Regions from separate parts of the Homo sapiens genome. Here region 1 is linked to region 2. The links are contacts of gene promoters, found by promoter capture Hi-C in blood cells and fetal thymus (Javierre and others, 2016). All regions are on one chromosome and are shown on one strand. Each heading gives the region's core, a stretch centred on a gene start or on the middle of the fragment in contact. The rest is flanking DNA. Distances are from core to core; before and after follow the strand shown.

Evidence for each region. Contacts are between HindIII fragments. The CHiCAGO score rates a contact against its expected background, and 5 or more counts as called.
Region 1: a fragment that was not itself captured here is called in contact with the fragment with the promoter of MIR155HG in region 2 in 1 of 17 cell types (non-activated CD4 T cells); the score reaches 5.1 in non-activated CD4 T cells.

Annotation. Positions count from the first base shown.
Region 1 is chr21:26,065,920-26,071,120 of GRCh38, reverse strand. All of the region lies in intron 3 of APP (amyloid beta precursor protein), which reads left to right. Among named protein-coding and RNA genes, the nearest start is that of APP, 100 kb to the left of the region's middle. The HindIII fragment of the contact is 3,912 bases long and covers 1-3,603 here.
Region 2 is chr21:25,560,071-25,565,157 of GRCh38, reverse strand. MIR155HG (MIR155 host gene) reads right to left here and starts at 3,013. Exons shown (of 3, transcript NR_001458.3): 1 at 2,901-3,013. RefSeq lists enhancers at 207-286, 3,429-3,478 and silencers at 2,669-2,948, 2,959-3,048. The HindIII fragment of the contact is 13,141 bases long and covers 1-5,087 here.

The sequences.
Region 1 (5,201 bases), core at 398-2,897, 510 kb before region 2:
GCAAATGTGCTGCAGCCTATAATGACACATATTTAAATGATTTTTGCATCTAAACAAATGCATTCACTCTTTGCCTGGTGTGTACAATTTGAATGACACTCGTGCTCTGCCTGGAAGGAACAGACGTTTTTCATTATAAAATTCAGTCAAGCAGAAAAGTAGCAAAGGAAGCAGAAATTTCCATTTACATCTATGATTGAAGTTGTAGTGATAAAAGAGGATGACTAAGTTGAAGAGTAGCCTTGTTCTCATTCTGCTATCTGACATGGGATCTTGTCACTTTGGTAATAGTTTTTAAACTTACATTATTGAGGAAGGCTCTGATCAGAAGTCTCAAATTATACATGTTCTTCAACCTTAGATTTTTCTGGGTGTTTTGTTTCAAAAGTCTCAAATTATATATGTTCTTCAACCTTAGATTTTTCTGGGTGTTTTGTTTGGTTTTTTGGTTATCTATAGATAGATTTGAGTATCTCTTTTTTTCTTAAAATCCGTTACTTACTAGTAATAAAGACTTAAGTGGTAGCTTTACGCTCCATTATCACAGAGATTCACAGTACTTTTTAGTTTTTACTTGTGAGCCTCAGCAGGTGTAGACAGATACCTTAGTTGCCACTGATAACATCCAGTTGCCACTAGATCAAGAAATGGTTCAAAATTCTCCAGGGGCATTTTCTGCTAAAGAAGAGTTGGTGATCTTCCTTTTGGAAGCCTTAATGTACTTAAACCTTCTTCCTTAGAAGTCCAGAAATTCAATTATTTCAGCTCTCTGTGGAGTGATAAGTCCTGCCAAATTGATTTACAATAATGAAACTAAGCCTTGTTTACAAATCTAAGTGGTGATTTCTAAGTCCACAGAGGCGTGGTAACAGAGAGAGAGATTCTGATTTATCTGGGGGTCTATCCGTGTTTGAACAGATTGTGTGATTTTTGAAACATGATTCAAAAGGGATGTTGATAAATTCTAAAATACATTTTTATTGAAGAGCTTGATGAATCATGTATACTTACTTTATTTGTTATTCTATTAGATATTGTCTTCCTCATCCCTAGGTGGTGTTGCTAGTACAGTGACAGAATTCAAATCCTTCTTTTTCCTCTGCTCTAACAGAGCTTTGTGAACTCATAGCAATATTGTAATGCCTGGTAAAAGGTGGTGCCAGTTTCAAGTACTATATCCTAATTACTTCATGGCTAACTCTTGTTATTGTTAACAATATTGTTAACTCTTTTGTTAAATGCAGTGACATCTTTTTTCTTTCTCATTCTCTGTGTACTTTTTGCCCTAAATAGTTCTGCATCTTTTAAGATACAAGTTTGCTTTTTCTTGGAGGTTTTTATTTGGAAAATGCCTGAAATATATAGACCAACATTTGTTCCTCCAATGGTTAAATTACATTGTCTCCCAAAGTGAGGCATTTTAAGTCTGGACTATACCCAGGAGAATCTAAAAGAGGCAGTTAATAAGCTCTTGAAGAGCACAGTGGGGTGGTTGTGTATTTATTGAGTCTCACACTTAGGAGAGAAATAGGCTGGACCAAATGAGCCTGGGCATCAAAAGCATGTGGGTGGTCGTTGGTGATATGTGCAGTGATGAGTGTGTGTGCTGAGGGTCCTAGACCAGGCTGGCAGGGAAATGAACTGAAGGCAGTGAAGCCTCCCCTGATAACTGCAGAGAGTGCTGCAGCATCCAGGACCTCAGGATCATGATGAACAAGCTGTAGTGGATGGAAGGGAGAGGAACTATGGGAAGGATGAGTTTCTGGCCAGAAAGTGGTTTACTGGAGTGCTGTGTCTGAGTATTACATGATCTGAGGACCATGAGGTCCAGCTTTGGGAGTATGGAGAGTTTGAGTGGAGTAGAGTTATAGTCCCATGGTCTTCTGATTCACAGACATTCATGAGCGATAAGTATCTATTGAGAAAGTGGAAGCATGATTTTTATGACCTCCTCTTGTTGTGGGGAAATCGATCAACGGGGCCTATATTGGTTGGGTTCTACAACCAAATAGAATGTGTTCAGCAGGAGTCATGTTTTGGGCTCCTCACAATGTTCAGTGTTAGTTCTGTTCCTTTCTCTTGCTTCCACATAGGAAAGACTTTGACCCAATGAGGAATTAGTCATTGTCCTTTGGGTACACTTCCGGAATTTGATAATCAGTTGGGCACTTGATTCTAGTACATTTGCTAAAAGTAATTAATACCCTGCAATTGGAAGCATGCAGCAAGCGACTGGGAATGCTAAGTGAAAGGTCAGAATTGAAAGAGTGGAGGAGGCTGTTGACCCTTAGGCATGGATGATATGTCTGAGTGAGAAAGCAAGAAGAGTAGAAGACAGAGCCTTACTTTATAATCAGAATTATGAAAAGAGGAGCCAATGAGAGGGAAAGAATGATTGGCTTGAGATAGATTGGTGGAAACTGGAGAAGATTGAATTTAAAGAAGAAAAGTGGGCCAAGTTCAGTGGCCCATGCCTAGAATCCCAGCAAATTGGGAGGCTGAAGCTAGGAGAGTTGCTTGAGGCCAGGAGTTTGAGATCAGCTTGGGCAACGTGGCGAGACCCCTGTCTCTACAAAAAATAATTAAAAAAAAAATTAGCCAGGCATGTTGGCATGTGCCGGTAGTCCCGGCTACTTGGAAGGCTGAGACAGGAAGGTTGTCTGAGCCCAGGAGGCTGCAGTGAGCTATGATCACAGCACTGCACTCCAGCCTGGTTGACAGAGGGTATCCCCGTCTCTTTAAAAAAAAAAAAAAAAAGAGAATGTGGCAGAGTAGTCAGAGAACTGGAGGGCTGAGAAGAGACTGATGGCATTTGTTGTTCTTGACCTTGAAAGAAGAGTTGCAGATTGTTGGAGCAAGGCCAGATGGTAATAGGTTGGAAAGAACAAGTGAGGGGCGTGAGAGTGACAGTCTACAACCCCGTTAAGAAGTTATCTGTGAAAATGCCTCTTCCTGTCTTGATTATAGCCTCCCTCGCACATGGCTTTCTGAGTATGGTATGTGAAAACAGCATGCTGTATATTTTTACCTTCCCATATGAGTTAAGGTTTTGGTAATGACTTGTGGTTCTTTTGCCTCACGGAACACCAACCTGGTTGGTATTTTGTCGGCAATTATGTGGTTTTTAAAAAGCCCCGTATATAACCTTAATTAATTGCGTCTCTAAAATCTATCAGGCTTTGAGTTTTTTGTTTTTTTTTTTTAAATAAGGCAGAAAGAAAGGAAAGTGTTAGGAGAAAGCAACCAGTGAGAATACCTATATTTTGAAGAAACAAAGTAGGGAATTTAGAATTATCTCTACTATATCTGCTTTTTCAGCTCATCTCTCGGGATACAGAGGACTGAACTAAGCTAAAGTAGGTTCAAGTCTAAAGGAAACCTTAAATTAATTTCTGTATTAGAATTAATCACACACCTATAAATACAATTTATGATATGAGAACTGCAACAAGAGAAATGGGGGGAGATGAGCAGTTTGCTGATCAATAGGGTTAATGATGGTAACATAGAATCCTAGTGATATGCCTCCCATTGACTAAAATGTATGCGTTAAGATAGCATAGCGCATAAAATGGTGTACTGCAGTCTCAGTGTATTCAAGCTTATTATGGTTTCTCTGCCTAGGTTTGTGTCTTTGGCTTTAGATTTTCTCCCATAACCCCAACCTGTCCACATTCAAGTCACTACTCCTTGAAATATATTATTGATCTCTAAAATCTGATGCTAAGTCTGTCTTGCCCAACGGTGGCCACTAGCCACCCATGGCCATTGAATATTTGAAACCTGGCTAGTCCAAACTATGCTGTGAGTATAAAAAACCCACCAGATATTAAAAAGTTAGTCTGGGAGAAAAAAACAAATGTAGAATGTCTTAATGATAATTATTTACATTGATTGCATGTTGAAATGATGAAATTTAGGATGTACTGGGTTAAAATATATTAATAAAATTAATTTTACCTGTTTCTTTTTACCTTTTTATGTTAATGTGGCTACAGGAAATTTTAAATTAGATATGTGGCCTCTATTATATTTCTGTGAGACAAAGCTGCTCCAAGCTGTTTTGGTCCAGAACTATATCTCGGTTCTTTTGTATCCTACATGGACCTGCATAGAATGGTATTTAGTAATACTCAGCAGTAGCAGAGATGATCTCTTATCAAATTATGTTAAGTTTTAATTTTTATTCTTGTCTCTCACCCTATGTGCACCTCTCTGGCCAGGAGGCATTTATCATATCACCTTTTAATATTTGGAAATCACTTGATCTGCTTGAGTCATTGTGTTGTTTTCAAATCTAGAACTCTTTCTACCTTATTTTGTAACTTCTATAATTAAACAAAAGGCGAACCAGGAGCAGCTTGGCTCTTAGGGATGTGTGAAAAGGCGCTCAGTCCTTAAGTTGGTGCCAAAAGTGACAAATCTATAGGATGAGATGCAGGTTTATGGAAGAGAAGCATGAAAATTTTTATTTTTTAAAAGGACACAGCAAGCTAGTCACCAAAAGACAGATACTTGATTCTACTTATATGCGGTACCTTTTTGAATTTGAAGAGTCAAATTCAAAAAGATGGAAAACAGAATGGTGGTTTCCAGGTTCTGGAGGTGGGGGAATGGGGAGTGGAGGTGGGGGAATGGGGAGTGGAGGTGGGGGAATGGGGAGTTGTTTAATGGTGTGCAGGGTTTTAGTTTAGCAAGATGAAAACAGTTCTGGAGATGGAAGGTAGTGATGGTTGTACAACGATATGAATCTACTTAACACTAAACTGTATAATTAAAAGTGGGTAAGCAAAGAGTGTCTTACAAAGCAATAACTTGTAACTTAAAATTTTTAAAAACCTTAATGAGATTAGTTGTAATGGGTTATCTTAAGTAGACCCTTACTGCCGGAAGGAACAGCTGAATCACATCACTTGGGAGCTTGTTAGAAAAGCAGACTCAGTCCCACCCTAGACTTGTCCAATCAAAACCTGCATTTTAACAAGGCCCCCAGGTGATTCATAGGCACTGTAAAGCTTGAGAAGCCCTGCTCCAAATATCATTTCTCAAAGTGTGATCCATGAGCCACCTGAAGCAGAGCCACCCTGGGAAGGTCTGTTTTCAGGCGCGTCCCAGAACACGTAAATCAGATCTAGGCTGTGGAGCTAGGGAGAAGATGAATCTGCAGACTGATCAGGATCCCAGGTGATTTTGAAGCATGG
Region 2 (5,087 bases), core at 1,764-4,263:
CCTTGAAAAGTAGTGTTTCACAATTTTTTTATTCTATCTAATTTAAGGAAACATGTAACAGTTTTGAGTCCAGTAAGATCAGTGAAAGACAAAAATACATTCTATAGTGAATTATAGTGGTACTTACTTTGACTTACTTTGGACATAGAGGATATAAATTCACTAAGACCAGCTGTGTCTCAGGAGGTATATGAAAGTGAGCTTGGTAGTTACACTGGAATCACAGAATTTCATCAGTGTAAGGGATTTTAGAAATGGTTCAGTCCCTGCCACCCATCAACCACCCATCTTAGAGATGAGCAAAATGAGGCACAGAAATCTGCAGAGTTGGTCCTAGAAACAAACCATGGTTCTCAGGCCGGTGCTCCTTCCCCAGTATTAGACTTCTGCAGAGTGGCAGCCTGATATCAAAACAATAAGGCTGTTAAAATCAATAGCTTCAGCTAAGCAATAGCCAATGACTATCAAAAATGGAGACACCAGCTAGTTAAGGGCACTAGCTGGTGCCCAGTCCAAGTGATAGAGGTGCCCAGTCCAAGTGAAGGGCAAGAGTCTACATACCACTTTCCTCTATTCAAGCTATTTATGCCTACTAGGTTTAGAATACTGATTATGAAAGTGGACCCCCGAAGAGGGTCATGGCTGAGATTCAAGGAAGTCTCTAGCCTGCTAACATCGAATGCAAATTGGTGTGTGAGGATACACATTAACAAAAATTTTCTGGGAAGAGCATATAAAATTTCCATTAGATTCTCAAGGAGGTAGGAATAAAGGATTTTAGTAACTATTACTCTAAAATGAAAGAATTCCTTTAAATTGAATGGCAGATCTTAGTCATGACCTGAAAAGCTGATAAAAAAAAACTTTTCAAAAGTTAAAACCTAGGGCTTTTTGGGGTAGATTTTTTGATTTATAGAGGACTGGTAAGATGAGGTATTTAAAGATGAGGGTTACAAATTTTCCATGTTGGCATATGGAAAGTAAAGAATGGCAAAATTTGTAGCACATTCTAATTAGTTCAAATATCTATGTTACCAAAATTGAAATGATATCAAATTGCACAGCAATGTCCTGATGGCCTTTCCTCTAACTTTCTGGGTTTGTAAGGGTAGGGTTGTGCCTATCCTGCTCACCTTTGTCTCTCCAGTGTCTAGCATAGCGTCCAGCACAGGCAGACTATGATGCCTGTTTTTTTTTTGTTGTTGTTTTTTTTTTTTTTTTTTTGGTAAAGACCAGTGAATTACACTTTTTACACATGACTAGGTTAAAACAAAAGTAGACATTTGTGCAAACACCACTGTTCTCCCTTGAAGTGGTTGTAGGTCTCAGACAGTGCTAATTTTTCTCTTTCTTAATGTGTGTGGTTAGGAAGCTGGGTCCTGTGGCCAGAGTGAGCTGACCCACTATGTGAGGAAACTTACTTATCACAGCCTAATAAGGAGTAGTCCTTGCAGCAGAAGTAATTACTAAATGTGCTTTGGTCATTTGACAGAAATCAGGGAGGCAGCAAGGAGTCATGGAAATGAGCCCAAACTGAGAGTCAAAACCCTGTGGTCTGCCGACACCCCCATCCCACATCCGTACCTAAAAGCAGGCTGTGCACTAGGGACCTAGTGACCTTACTAGAAAAAACTCAAATTCTCTGAGCCACAAGTCCTCATGGGCAAAATGTAGATACCACCACCTAACCCTGCCAATTTCCTATCATTGTGACTATCAAATTAAACCACAGGCAGGAAGTTGCCTTGAAAACTTTTTATAGTGTATATTACTGTTCACATAGATAAGCAATTAACTTTACATATACCCGTTTTTAAAAGATCAGTCCTGTGATTAAAAGTCTGGCTGCCCTAATTCACTTCGATTATACATTAGGTTAAAGCCATATAAAAGAGGCACTACGTCTTCGGAGAGATGAATGGATATTACAAGCAGTAATTTTGGCTTTGGAATATACACATAATGTCCACTTGACCTCATCTATTTGACACAAAATGTAAACTAAATTATGAGCATCATTAGATACCTTGGCCTTTTCAAATCACACAGGGTCCTAGATCTGCTGTGTGATGCTGGAAAAGTAACTTCACTTCTGTGGGCCTCAGCTCCTTAATTTTTAACATACTTTGGATTCTTATATCTTTGTCAGCTGTCAACTTCAGTGTTTTCAGGTTAAATTCTATCCATAGTCATCCCAATATACCTGCTTTAGATGATACAAACTTCAAAAGATCCGGCTCTCCCTCGTAAAACGTGGAGGACAGACATCAAGGGGGTTTTGTGAGTAAAGAAAGGCAACCGCTCGGCAAAAACGCACCCTGGCACAACAGGAGCGAATAAATACAGACGCTGATTGAGCGTTTGCTCCATCTTCACTTCTGTTAAATGAAGACATTGATATCTAAAATGCTATGAGTCTAACTTTGTAAAATTAAAATAGATTTGTAGTTATTTTTCAAAATGAAATCGAAAAGATACAAGTTTTGAAGGCAGTCTCTTTTTCCACCCTGCCCCTCTAGTGTGTTTTACACACTTCTCTGGCCACTCCAACAGGGAAGCTGGTCCAGGGCCATTATACAGGTACGTCCCCAACCATCCAAGGAAACTTTGCAAAGAAGCTCAAGTATTAGGTTTCGAACACCCCTCCTTCCCCCTGCCTCTGCCCGCGGGAATCCATCCAGCGCAATCTCTGGTCCCGGGCGAGGCGACACCACTGAGTCCCCAGGGGGCACCCGCAGGCGCGCGCGGGACCAGGCCGGGCTCCACGGCCACGTGCGCGCTGCCCCCGCCTTGCCTCGCCAGTTAACCCGGCGGTGACCCTCGCACCGAAGTCCCCCGGCGTCCCTGCCACGTTCAAGAGAGGAAAGGCGGGCGGGAGCGCGAGACTGAAGTCGGCGTACCTGCAGTGCCAGGAGCGTCTCCTTGGTTCCCCGCGCTTGCTCTGCGGGCGGCTCGGGGCTCCGCTATCCGCTCCCTTCCCGAGGCTGCAGGCGGCGCTGGGCCCGGGCTCGGCCGCGCACAGGAAGCCCGCGCCTGCGAACGTGCGACCCTTTTATAACTCACTTGTGACTCATAACCGACCAGGCGCCTTTTCTGCAACCCCCCCCCCCTTCTCCCCCCTCCTGCCTGTTCTTGGAACCTACAGCTTGAAAAACTTTTTTCTTTTTAAAGGAAAAGTCGAAAAAGCCCAGCGCCCGGGTAGTTGGTGTTTTCCCCTTTCCCTTTCTCGTGGGTCATTGCGTGTGTGTATTTTTTTTCTCTCAACACACGCCGTGTACTTTCCTGCACCGCGCCGCAAGGCTTGGGCTCCAACCTTTGTTCTTAAAGAAAAGGAAACGCCTTCAAATGACGGCCCAGACGTCGCCCGAACTTTCAGTCGGCTGGAGGGGGAAGTGGCGACTTCTTGCAACTGGGTGGCAGGAGTGTCTCTACTCTCTCCTTGCAGGGAGCCCGAGAGGAGCAAGTGGGAGGTTTTTCCTCCTGGACCGAATCAGCTGGAGACCAGCAGGTCCCTAAGAGAGGAAGAAATGGTCTTCAGGCGATCCTGGATTTCATCCCTACCTCATCACCCTTCAAGAGCCCGCGTTTGGTTTGGAATACGTAACTGGGCTTTGAGAACGTTTGTACTGTGTCTGGTACCCGCATTTATACTCGGGATGTCAAGATATAGGACTTAAAACTTCAAAAATTTTGACCTCAACAACATTCTCCCCCTGCCCTCCACTCCCATCTCCAGGACATATTCCTGGAGCATATGGGACTTCGGTCGTTTTAATTTTTGGTTTTGTCGCTTCTCTCTTTTCTCCCGGACCCTGCCACAAGGGGAACATTTTCCTGGAGCAGCCATTTGATTTTGGGGGATGGAAAGGAACAAATAGATCTAAAGCCTGGCAAGTTTATCCTACAAGCCTAGTCGAGTAACTCATTCATGGGTCTCAGTTCAATAAACGTTTAGACTTGAAGAAGAATAAGGAAATATGGGGAAGAGAAGGAGGACAGGAATAGATCTAGCCTCATCAACATGTGACTGGGGCCTTTTTGTAAGAAAGACGGGGCCACTGCTGGATTGCATTGCAAGTATCCAGTACTTGGACCTCCCTGTCAAGGGCACAAGACATTTTAGAATAGTTTGTATTAAACTGATGCCAGTTACATGTCAGAATACATGTCAGAGCTGGAAATCCCATAGTACTTAATTTACAGATGGCTCAGGTTGGTTAAGGAACTTGGGAGCATTTTAAAACCCTCTATTCTTAAGATACATGCTTTTTCTCTTATAATTCAAACAAGAATAATCATGATGATAACAACTAACACTTATAAAGCATTTACCATGTGCCAGATCCTGTCCTAACACTCCTTATATGCATTAACTCTTTCAGTCCTCACTATGATCATATGAGGGAGGAGCATTATAATCTCTATTTCCAGATGAGGAAACTGAGCACAGAGAGATTAAACATGTTACCTTAGATCCTAGTAAGTAGTCAAGCTGAGATTCAAACTCAGTTCCAACCCTGGAGGGCTGGCTCCGTAGTCCAGTCTCCCTGCTTTCCAGATCCATGTGACGTTGAGGAGCTGGGGAAGTTGTGCAGTGGGGCATGTGGCAAGGATGCATGGTCCCCACCCAGGTGGGGCACGTCCCTCTGCTGGTTACAGATGCCTACAATGCCTTTCTGAATTTCCCATTTCTCATTCTAGGTTGAACTATAAGAAATTGCCCATAGGCAATTCTAGGGTGACCTTTCATCCCCAGAATGACAAGTTTGTATAATGCACTTTAATAGAAACAGGAAATTGCTCAATCCTCCCTTCTCCCAGTGGTGGAAGTAATTTCAGGTCATGTGCAAACCTCCGCATTTTAGGTCCCAGTTTGAGACACCCAGAATAGTGGATGGATAAATGGGTTTTAGGAGTCAAATACACCTGCATTTTACACTAATTCTAGCTGTGGAATCTGAACGTTAAACTTTTTATGTCTCAGCTTCCTGTAAATGACAATAATGATGTCTCCCATCAGGGATTACTATAGACTGAATCATGTTCTCTTCAACTTTATATGTTGAAGCCCTGATCCCCAATGTTAT